Linked DNA regions of Homo sapiens: region 1 is linked to region 2. Evidence: promoter capture Hi-C in 16 types of primary human blood cells and fetal thymus (Javierre and others, 2016). All regions are on one chromosome and are shown on one strand. The core of a region is centred on a gene start or on the middle of the fragment in contact, and the rest is flanking DNA. Distances in the headings are between cores, read along the strand shown. Region 1 has its middle 280 kb from the start of ADAMTSL1. Region 2 holds the start of SH3GL2 (SH3 domain containing GRB2 like 2, endophilin A1).

Region 1 (5,678 bases), core at 494-2,993, 610 kb after region 2:
TTTATATATTCCAGAGGGCAAGATTTAACGCCCTTTTCCACCCCCAATTTGGTAAAATTAAATAAATAAATAAAACTTAAAAGTTACAGATATGTCATAGTTTGAAATATGTATGCCCTTCTTATTCCTCATCCATGGAGCTCCCTGCAACTGTATAGGGTAAAAGCCTGATAGCAACTAATTTTTACTAGGAAATTAACTCCTTCAGCTCCCACCATTATACATGTCTTCCACTCTATTATAGAACTGTGTTTGGCAAGATATGTTTTTTTAAAAAAAACTCCTCAAGTTTCTTTCTTTTATGCTGGCCAGTTCTGTGGACTTTTAAACTCTCTGAGAACTACCTTTTGAAAGGTTTTTGTACTCTAGCATGTATTATTCAATAAGTCATTCTCAACAAGTAAGTCAAATAAGCATATTAGTCTGTGTGCTGCATTTTAAAAGAGCCTGTTAAACTGGCTGCTTTTTGGCAGTTTGCCCAATTAAAGGTTGTCATAATGAATCTATCTAGAACAAGAATGAGCCTGGTCAGGTTTCAAATGAAATGTATGTTTTTGTATAAGTAACCTCTAAGGGGATCCAGCACTGCACATTGCATAATGTGATACAATAGTCACAGAAGCTCAGAAATTCAGGGGAATGAAGTGTAGCATAGTCCTCCAACTATGTCATAGATTAATCAAAATGGTTTAGTGTCAGCTTTTGCTTTCAAATTCCAGCAACTAAGAAGACAGCTTATTTTCATAAGGATATCATGATGTGTGTGTGTATTTTAAGTGGAATGTTATATGAATGAGTTACGCTTGTCCAACCAACTCTTTTTAATCCTTGACCATTTAAATGGAAAATCCATCTAAGCTGACTTTATTCCATGGAAGTCACTTTTCAGTGGGAGAGATTAGGAACTGTCATTGTGACCAGCACACTCTTGTACTTTAAACAGAGGACTCTTATTATGCTTGTCTGAATTATGTCCTTTATTTTGTTAATCAGAGTGCCTATTTCAACCCGATTTCAAGCCAGGCTTTTATTGATTGTTCCCAAACTGGGAGATAATTCAGCTATTTACAAGATAAGCATTGATTTCTCGCACTGAGTCTAACAGCAGCTTTCTCCAAATTTGAACCCATTAAATAAATCCTGCTGAAGAATTATAACTGTTGTTTGAAATGTGACTAAAAATTTGACTAAAATAATTATTGCATATTAATTTTTAAGTATTAAGCTTATTGTTTGCTCCCGTCCATTTGATAACCATTCTCCTTGGCTTAACAAACTGCTGGTTCTTCCCATCAGTGTTCATAAATTCCATGACAAGACTGGAAAGACCAGTTCTGACCACCCACCAATAAGTGGCGCTATGTCTTTGCCATTCCAGAGAAGTGGGTTTTGCTCCATCGTACCCCTAGGGCACATGAACCTACTTGTTTTCTTGTTAACTGGCCTACAGGTGTCAAAATAATCCAAATTTCCACAAGAAATCTAGAATGATGTTACAAGTAAGCAGATGAAAATTATCCTCTCATAATTGTTTTTACAGTGGTAAAGGGAACAGCAGAGGACTCCAAAAGAAATATTTAGGTCATATATTTCTGCTGGCAGGTGCCAGTTGAGGACTGGGTTCAGACTGGAATGCTTATGAGCAGGCCTAGATAGTTTGTATGGGTGGCTGCTTGCCAGGCAGTCATCTGGTCCCGGGGATAGGGGTCAGGGAAAGAAGAAACTGGCTGCTTGACCTTCCCCTGTTCCTATGCACCCTCTGAAAAATTGCTAGTAGGAGCTTCTGTTGATGTGCTTCAGCACTCCAGAGCTCCTGTCTTGTCCAGCCACCCTCAACCCTTGAGACTGAGGAGGACAGGCCCTGCATTGACTGGGAGGCCCAGAGAGGAAACTGGGAGACTGATGGCATCTCAGGCGACAGAGACCAACCACACTAAGCCACTTTCTTCTTCAATCCATGGAGGCATAAACGTCAGAGAAGGAACCTCACAAGTTCAGCCTACAGCCTAATGAAAGTGGCCTGTTACCTTGGACAGGACCTGAGCCCTTAGCTGAGCCTCAGATCCCTGAACCCAAGAAGGTTCCTTAAAGGCTCTGGCCTTGGCAAGAAGACTTCTTCCCTGAATCTAATTACCAGCTTAAAGTTCACAGTTGCCAGCATGGATGCCCAACTTCCACAAATTTCCAGGCCCGATTATTAGTATATCACTTAAGACTGCAAATAATTGTGGTAACTGGCATCAATTCTTAGAGGGCTTTGTGAAGCTTATTATTCCAGTGACTTGTCTTACTTTATTTCTCAAAATATTTTGTTATGCCCATATTCTCTCTCCATTTCATGAAGTTACAATACAACACTTGAAGGGAGCCTTTGAAAAAGAGAGTAATAAAAGGGATTCTTAGAATCTTGCAATGAAAACCTTATTGTTACTTTAATTATAATTGTGTAACTGGCCCTCTGATAAGTGCAATTAAGATCTTCTTGTAATGAAATACACTGGGTATGATCGTTACGGTGTTTGACATTGATGGTATTCTTTCCTAAAAGTGGTACATTTCATGGTCATTTTCTCATGTTGCTATCTTCATGCTTAAAATTAATTAAGTCCATTTAACTTTTCTAATAGGAATATTTGGATTCTTTGTTGCTGACCTTTCTACTCTTGCAATGACTTATTATATTTCATCCTTCTATGCTTCAATAAATCAATAATGGTGTTTCTATGAAAGATTTATTTCCTAAGACTTTGTTTGATATTGAAAACATCACCACTTAGAGCATGTCAGGAAGGCTAAATTCTAAATTAAGTTGCTCTCTGTCCTGGGCAAAATCTCCTTATATTTCAGTTTCTTCAAATCCCCTAAAGAAGTCATATCAAATTGACTCTCTAGATTATGATTATAAACAGATCAAATGTAACACAACTTGAGCCTATCATGGGGCTGTTCAGAAATTCGTCCTACCATATGTGTCTAATGTTGAGTGGAGTATTAAGCTTGCTGAACCTTTCCATGATTTAATTGTCAAAATGGCTTTGGAAAAAATTAATAATATTTTGGAAGCTACAGTATTCTCCAGTGTTTTTCCATGGTACTGAACCATGATTTTTGGAGAAGACATTTCTAAATTTCTTTTACTGGATAATTTTTGGATCACCTAGCAAATATTCAGTACTACACTTTTACTAGACTCAAAAAACATTTACAGTACTGTTTATAAGAAGAATTAATACAGAAAAAAGTGCAAAACCAAAAATATACAATGCATGGTTTTAGAGAATGAAAGAAAAGACTGGCCAACTTAGAGTATTTTCATATCCCTATTCCTAGTAGGTTTTATTTATGCAATATGCATTTATTGAGCAGCTTATTGCAAGCACTGTATGAAACATATACTTTAAAAGTAGATCATTTCTGCTTGCTGCAATTCCTATTTTAACTTTATATATAATATACACAGGAACTATCTAACCAGAGAAATAAACGATATAAGGAATACTTCAAAAAAAATGTGCTGAAGACATTAAGAGTGTGATGAGTGACCATGGAGTCAATGTATTAGATCTAGATTTCCTTTTCCAGGTTTTTTTGGTTGGGCTAAATAAATAAATAAAGCTGCTCTTGTTTGGGTTTCCCATTCCTCTCAGAACTCATCCCCAGCAGATTCAAATAACTTTCAAGATTGTATTCAAACTCAAGAATCACTACAGGTGTGTCAAGTCACTATAAGATTCAAATCGTTTTGAAAAGATGACCCTGGGAGTGGTGAGATCAACATAGAATGCAAGTTGACTAGGAATGGGGAAGAATCATATAGAAATTATGTTTATGGCAGCCACAGTGGGAGGACATGATAACATGGAATATGCAGGGGAAGAGGAGGAATCGGGAACAGTTACAGTAGGATCCATGGTGCCTCTGCTAGCAATGGAGCTGTTCAGAAAAGCTCCTTTGCCTTGGAAGAAGCCTTTCTCTCCTCTTCTGGCTCTCTCTCTCTTCCTCTGGTTCTCTCCCTCCCCACTCTTTTTCCTTTATCTATTAAATTTCAGAGATTGCTTTGATGTCCAAATCCAGATGTGAGGACATGAAAGGAAGAGAGGAAAATAGAATAAAAGAGATAATGGGGAAATGGAAGGAAAAATAGAACTACAATTTGTCACACTCATCAAAAGGGAAAGGACAGGCCGTCTGTTTGGACAGCCTACTCCCATAGCCACATAATTTTCCTTTCACTGGGTCCCTGTATGGACTTTGAGAAGCAGATCTCTCTATGCCATAAACCTAGGGTTTTTTGGGGCAAAGACTGACTGCCCTTTTCTTTATCCTCCCAGTCCCTTATTATTTGAATCCCTGTATTAAAATTGTTTGCACACACTCATGTTTTATCAGATTTTCTTGTAAGGATGGGCAAAATGCATTACAATTCTCCACTGTATACATATACTAATTTAGTGCTATTTAGTAGCTTCTTTTTGTTGTAGGTAATAATAACAACCATGATGATAGCAGAAAAGAGCTATTGAATTTGGCGGGGAGAAATGTGACTGATAAACCTACTGAAGAGGACAGTTGGAGTGATAGTGAAACTGTAACTGGAAAAAAAATAGGGTTCTGAGAAGTAGGATGTGTAGGAAGAAAAAAAGAAGAGCATTTGTTTGAACTCAGTGCTAAAGTGATGACCTTAGTCTCCTCCTTTGACCGTGGGGGGAGAAAAAAGCATATTAAACCCTGAGAATAAAAAAGTGGCTAAGTCAAGTTATTTTTTTAAATAAGAGATTTGAACATATTTACAGGCAGAAAGGAAGACACCAGTAGAGAAGACATTGAGAAAGTTGACAGGGGAACACATGATTATTATAGCAGAAAATGAAGAGGACAGAAATTTAACAAAAGCAACATGCACCCTCCAAGGGCACTGCTGTCTCTCTCTGACCCCTGTATCTCATGGTCCCCTGCGCTGGTCCTCCTAGTTGTGCCAGTAACAATGTTAACCCGTCTTGCTTTCCCATTCCAGCTTGATGAAGTCATAGAAAGCATTCTCTTCAGGGAGAATGAGTTGAGATTCCTAAGAGCAAGAATCTTGCTTTCTTGCTGCAGAGGTCACCCTCCAGCATCTTTTTCTTCTTGCTTTTTCAACAGTCCCAGCAGTGTATATGCCTCGTGGCCCAGGGTCTAGGACTGTACAAATTGATATTTGTAGAACCCCAGTGCTGGAACCAAAATGGCAGAGGAGAAGCAGTGCTCCCCTGTCCTGCTTCTCTTCTTTTTCCTCCTCCTTCCCTCAAGCCTGCCTAGACTTTCTGTACACCCACATTCTCCAAGTTGTCCCGCCTTTATTCCTGGCCAAGTCTGCATTTGCTGTGACTATCCTTTGATTAAGGTACTTGACACCAAGGAGTGGGTGACACACAAGATACATCTTTTCAGAAGTTATTAGCTTCTCCAAAAAATGGCATTGCTACCTCTTCATAATGCCCAGTTTAAGAATGCATGAAAGACTAGTAATCAGTCCTTGTTTCATAATAGTTCCTATAAGATGAAAGGCTTAAATTAAATGATATATGGGAACCCTTAATATGGTACCTGTCATACAGTAAGCACTCAATAAATGTTGGCTGTTATTATTTATATTGTTTGTTTTGAGGAATGAGGGGTCACAGCCACCAGTGTCCATCAAA
Region 2 (6,015 bases), core at 953-3,452:
ATCAGATCTTGTAAGACTCATTCACTACCACGAGAACAGTGTAGGAAAGACCCACCCCCATAATTCAATCACTCCCACTGGGTTCCTCCCACGACACGTGGGAATTGTGAGAGTTACAATTCAAGATGAGATTTGGGTGGGGACACAGCCAAACCATATAAGATGAGGTGCAGAGGATGCCTGGGCGACTAAATCAATGGTTTCCAAAGGATTTAATGTAATGCCCTTAAGTAGTTTTTTTCTCCCAAGGTAGTTTCTTTGAAGTTAAGCAGCATGAGACTTCCAGGTTGGTGGATGAAGAACCAGGGAAAGATAGAAACTGCCTTTTTTATAATGTAGGGCTCAGTTAAGTATTCAAAGTTCCAAGGAGGCAATTCAGGCCCCCATTTCACACCTTTCACTGTTAGAGAGCAGAGCTCCTATCCATCCCAGGCCCTTCCACTTTGTAGATCAATTGCTCTATCTTTTGGCAGCTTCAACAAAGCCCTGTCTTATGAAAATGCTTTATTGTTCAGATCAGGGACCTGGTAGTAAAAATTAACTATAAAATACTTTTTTTTCTATTATGCAAGTAATGGGTAGCCTTTTTAAAAATTGGAAACATAGAGAAAAAAGTTTATTCCTAACAACCGGAGCCTCAGTGGATTAAAATTACTCAGGTTTCTCACTGATGCTACATGCCCATTGAACGTCAGGTGGGGACTCTGCACTGCTTTAGTCTCACTCTGGATACTGGCTGACAGACCACAGCTTTCTAGAATATTGCGGCCGAGGAAAAGAAAGCTTTGCGGCATCTCATACATCTCATATTGCTGCTGCAGAAGTGACAGTCACTTTTCCTCTTAAACCTCTAGTCAAAACTTGTAACCATGCCTCCACTTAACAAGAGGTTTGGAAAGTGCAATTCTGCCATGTAGGGAAAGGTATATGAACAGTGGTAAGGGCTACCACACTGGAGAATAGCTCCTTTCATCTGCCTCCCTTTGCAGCCTGCGTCCCTAGTCCATGCGCTCTACTGCTCCAGTGCCCACCACTGCTTGACTCTGCCTTTGTGTGTGTCAGTTCACATTATCAAGAAGGACCATGACTGGTAGCTCTACGGATGGAGGACCCTTTTGTAGCAGGTGTTCACCCTGTGCCCAAGCCGCAGTGCCTAGAAGAGTGGGGATGGGTCTGTGGCTCCTATCAGGCTGCAGGAGTTGCGGAGACAGAAAAAGTATTTCTAGGACTCCCATTTGGCCTTGCAGTCTCTACACATCCTTGGCAATTTCTCCCATCTTGGCTTCTCCTTCTTATCACTTTGGTCCACATACGGGGACAGCGTCTAAGTTCTTTCTGACCACCTCCTCAGTCCTAGAAAAACCAGACTTGGTTAAGTACCAGAGCACAGAAGGCATTTAGTGCTGCTCTGCTCCCAAGTCATCTATTAGTTTCACTTTAGCCAGCCATACCTCCTTGGTTACATATGAAGCATCTGTATATAACTTAGTATCATGCTTTTTCACATTATATTTTGATTTTTATCGGACCGGAAACCCTAAATCCACAAGCATAACAACAAGATCACATTTGGGCTTTTTCATTTCTGTAACCAGAGGATTGAACGCTAGTTTTGTAGTAAGACTTCAATTCTATTTATCCGTCCAGGCTTAAGGGTTCCTGTTCTTCTTTTTAAGTCATTAAATTGTATCAGACAAGGGGGAAAACGCGTGTGTGACTTTCCCTAAGGTAAGATGGGCTTAAGGGATATTGAAACCAGGGCAGAGAAATGTTTTCTGTGACCCACCAGTCAGGGCAAGGCATAGAAGGAGCAATGACTTATTCATTAGCCCAGATAGAAGGCCAGTCTTTTTCAGGCTGCGGCGCAGAGACGCCAGGCTCAAAGGGCAGGAGGGCCGTCTGCAGGCAGCGCCGCCGCGGCTACCTGGAAGCCCAGCAAGTCACCTGAGTCCTGCGGGTGCCTGGGCTGCCAATCTGCAGCGACCCGTCCGCAGCCCCCGGGGGCAGGAACACCAACCCCGGGACAGGAGGACGTCCTCGGCCCGCTGACTAGGGATCCGCCAGCGGGTGCCGCTGAGCCACATCCCCGCAGTTGGCGCCAGCATCCAGGTACCGCGCGCCACAGCACCTGCCTGGGCGTTCCCGCGCTTGGGGCGGGGCTTCCCGCGTCCCCTTTAAGAGGCCGCATCACCCGCCCTTGACGTCAGAGTGTTTCTCCGCAAGAGCCCGTGTCCCGCTAGGCTCCGCGCCCTCGCGCCCATAGCCCCGGCGGCGGCACGACCAGAGGCGGCCAGGGGAGCGCGCCGCCCCGCTCGGCCCTCCAGTCCCCCTCCGCCTCCTCCCTCCCGCACAGCAGCCGCCAGCGCGGCCTCCTGCACCATGTCGGTGGCCGGCCTCAAGAAGCAGTTCCATAAAGCCACTCAGGTAAGGCGCGCGGCAGGTGCGTCCCGGGGCAGTCCGGGGCGAAGCTGCGAGGGGCGCGCTCGGCGCTGGCCGTCCGGCGGCAGCTTGGGGAGTTCGGCACCGAGCCTCGCCCGCGCCGGCCGCGCCCCGCCTCGCAAGCCAAGGCGGCGGCTCGGGGCATCCCCGGTCTGGGCGTCCACCCTCGGTCCCCCGCCCCCGGCTTGGTGCGCGCTGCCTTCCCGCGGGTCCCCGGCGTCCTGCCTGGTAGCGCTGCTCGCCGCCCCCGCATCATCTCGCGCCCGTGCTGCAGGAAGGGGACCGCGGCTGCACTGCTGCCGCGGCGCGCAGGTGCCTTGGCGGCGCGGTGGGAGATTATGTAAAGTCGCCTCTTCACGGGTGACCTTGCGGAGTCGGTGCACCCGGCTTTCCCGGGATGTGTTGGCATGAGCGGTGGCCGCACTGGGGGTGGCGGGGCGGAGGCCGGCGGTTTGCGCTCCTCTCCCTTACCCTGTTGTCAGAACCCTCCTTCCCCGCCGCCCGCAGGCTCCAGGGGAATGGAAGGCTGGGGTCTTCCTTTAGGGACCCGCATACATTAACTTTTACCTGGAGAACTCGGTCGTGAAACTCCTTTGAGGCCAGGGCATGACAAACAGTCTGCGGGTCTTAAATATTTCCCTAAAACAACCAAATTGTTGAAGACTTAAAATCATCATGTATTTTAAATTGTTTTTAATAAATCTTTGGCATCTTGGATGTGCCCATTTTTCTTTATGGGGTTAATAAGCTGTGACTGTAATAAAACTGATTAATTTAGATTCTAATAATTAAAATCATTGGACTCAAAGAATTTTACATAGGGGCAAGTAAGCGAATACTTACGCTGTGACCTATTTCTTACATAATGTGTGTGATTACTACTTTTTTATCCTTCTGAAATAGGTTCAAATTTATGGGATCTTTAAGGATTTTGATGACTTACCGCGAAATGTTTTTCATGATTTGGTGTTAAATAGTTTTTCATAGGTTAGCCTTAATTAACGAGCTTTCTCATAATTTCTCGGAAGTAGTGAGGTTTTTCCTAGGCTACCACAGTGGCAGCCTTGTTATGAACCACATCCAGAAAAGGTGAGGGTTGTGTTTTACAGAACCTTGGTTAACTTAGGGTGACAGATGCAGCATGTAATTCCCGTCGTGTGTGTGTTTGCACGCATCTGCATCATCTTCATCACACATTCTTGCCTTTATAGAATCAATTATACCTGTCAACTTAGGAAATCAAGAAAAGTAAGACTATTTCTGTAAAAATGTTTCTTAATGTAATTATTTTTGCTTTTCTATTATAATTGGAGTTATCTGTGACCTCTCTGCCAGACATGTTTATGAAAGTAAGTGATTTGTTTGTTGATGTAGTTTGGAAGGCTTCTAATAACTTTATACTGCAAGTTCTTTCAGGTTTACAGAACCAAGCATATGTGCTGCCCAGGAATTCTGTGGCAGGACTTCTTCGATATTACTAACCTTTTTGATTGCTCTACTGGTCACTTCTCTATAGCATATCTCAGCACTGCGTTTACCAACACATCTTTTTTCCACTTGGATTCTAAAGATTTCTTTTGCAAAGCTTAGTGCCCTCAAAGGCAATTAAGAGTCTTGGCTTTGGAGTGGGAAAGGCTAAGGTTTGAATCCTGCCTCTGCTGCTTCTGACCTTGAGAGAGTATTTAACTTCTGAACCTGTCCATGCTGAAGTGATGATAATTTCCGTTGTCTCTTCAGGGTTGAGGTGAAGAGAAACGAGTGTGTAGAACACACGTATAAAGTGTTCAATAAATTATAGTTATTGACATAAAGGATATTTTTATTAGTATAAAATACTATCCCTTATGCTGTGAAGAAGTTACCCAAGCTAGACCTTTTAGTTTTTCCAACTTAAAAAATAGAGCGCTCCATTTCCGCTAAATCTTGAAGTTCTGTGTCGCCCTAAAGTGTAGAAAAAATAATTTAAACTGCGTTAGGAAAGAACTTAAAAGGTTGGAGAAGGTCGGCATGTGATGCGATACGGTTAATGTTTATCACACCGAATCCAAATGCAGAATCACTGCGTCATTGTCTTCCTTTTACTGAAAAGCCTTTTATTTGAAAGGTGAAGCAGCACGTAGTCTCTTATCCATAATTTAGTGTAGCACACTCTTAGAAAGTCTAAGGCACAGGTGACTGTTCTGTGCATATGTATATTTAGGAGAGTATGTAAAGCCCATGTTAATGTTTGCATGTGACAAAAAAATTAGAGAAATAGTCCTGTCCTACTTTTGTAGCCATTTTTTTCCATCAGGTCCGTGAACCTGATGTTATCTACAGAGAAGCTTTAGACCTAGAATTACTTCCTTTTGAGAACTGATGTGCTGGATAATATAGCCTGGGTTTGTTTGTTTGTTTATTTATTTATTCATTTGAGACAAAGTTTGACTCTTGTCGCCCAGGCAGGAGTGCAATGGCGTGATCTCAGCATACTGCAACCTCTGCCTCCTGTGTTCAGGCGATTCTCCTGCCTCAGCCTCCTGAGTAGCTGGGATTATAGGCATGCACTACCACGCTCAGCTAATTTTTGTATTTTTAGTAGAGACAGGGTTTAGCCATGTTAACCAGGCTGGTCTCGAACTCCTGACCTCAGGTGATCTGCCCGCCTCGATTACAGGCTGAGCCCCCGCACCTGGCCTATAGCCTGGGTTTATAAGTGGAAGGAGTCTGTTCACGCAAACGTTTCTTTCTATGGAATTGAGCTTTTTTGCTTGTGTTAGTAAGCGATGATAAATAAAACAGTATATTGTTTGTACTTGGAATTTCTGATTAAATGTGTCACAACTGTTGTCTTATATTAGAATTGGTTATTTCTACCTTGTTGCTGACAGTTATTTTCAATATGTTTACAATTTGGAGGTAAAAAAATGCTTTTGCCAAGTAAAATTTATTAGAGAAGAAAATCCTTTCAGCATGAAAATATATAATGATACCAAAAATTGATTGATCATCTTATTTTCATGTACTTCATTACTTAATTGCTCATAAAGATATAATTTACTGTATAATTAGAATAAAGTATTCTTTTTTTACTGTAATAAAGGGCAGATGATCTTGTGTTGCTCTTTTAGTGAGTTTTATTCATATTGAGATTTCATTTTACAAAAGTCATGTCAGTTTTTTTACACTTGTTTTAAACTGGCAGCAGCTTAGTTAAAAATAGCTGTTTCCAGTGAACATGAAGCTCCTACAAAATCTGTATTTTTAAAAATTCACTCTATCATGCATATGATGTGGACACATTTTGCTTTACAATATGTAAAAGTCTATTATAAAGTAAAATATATTAGGTCATTTTATGAGTTTGCTGGAGCTGCTGTAACAAAGTACTACAAACTGAGTCGTTTCAACGACAGAAATACATTGTTTCCCACTTCTTGAGACAAGCACACTTGAAGTCTGAGACCAAGGTGCCAGTAGGGCCACGAGCTCTCTGAAGGTATGAGACAGGATCTATTCGAGGCTGCCTTCTTAGCTCTTGTGCTTTGTTGGGAATCTTTGGGCTTCCTTGGCTTGTAGATACATCACCTTGGTCTC

The links. Contacts are between HindIII fragments. The CHiCAGO score rates a contact against its expected background, and 5 or more counts as called.
Region 1: a contact is called between a fragment that was not itself captured here and the fragment with the promoter of SH3GL2 in region 2, in 1 of 17 cell types (endothelial precursors). The highest score is 5.2, in endothelial precursors.

Annotation. Positions count from the first base shown.
Region 1 is chr9:18,189,505-18,195,182 of GRCh38, forward strand. It overlaps a transcript of ADAMTSL1 not described here. Among named protein-coding and RNA genes, the nearest start is that of ADAMTSL1, 280 kb to the right of the region's middle. The HindIII fragment of the contact is 1,040 bases long and covers 1,224-2,263 here.
Region 2 is chr9:17,576,864-17,582,878 of GRCh38, forward strand. SH3GL2 (SH3 domain containing GRB2 like 2, endophilin A1) reads left to right here and starts at 2,203. Exons shown (of 9, transcript NM_003026.5): 1 at 2,203-2,424. The coding sequence starts at 2,380. RefSeq lists a silencer at 1,015-1,213. The HindIII fragment of the contact is 3,241 bases long and covers 782-4,022 here.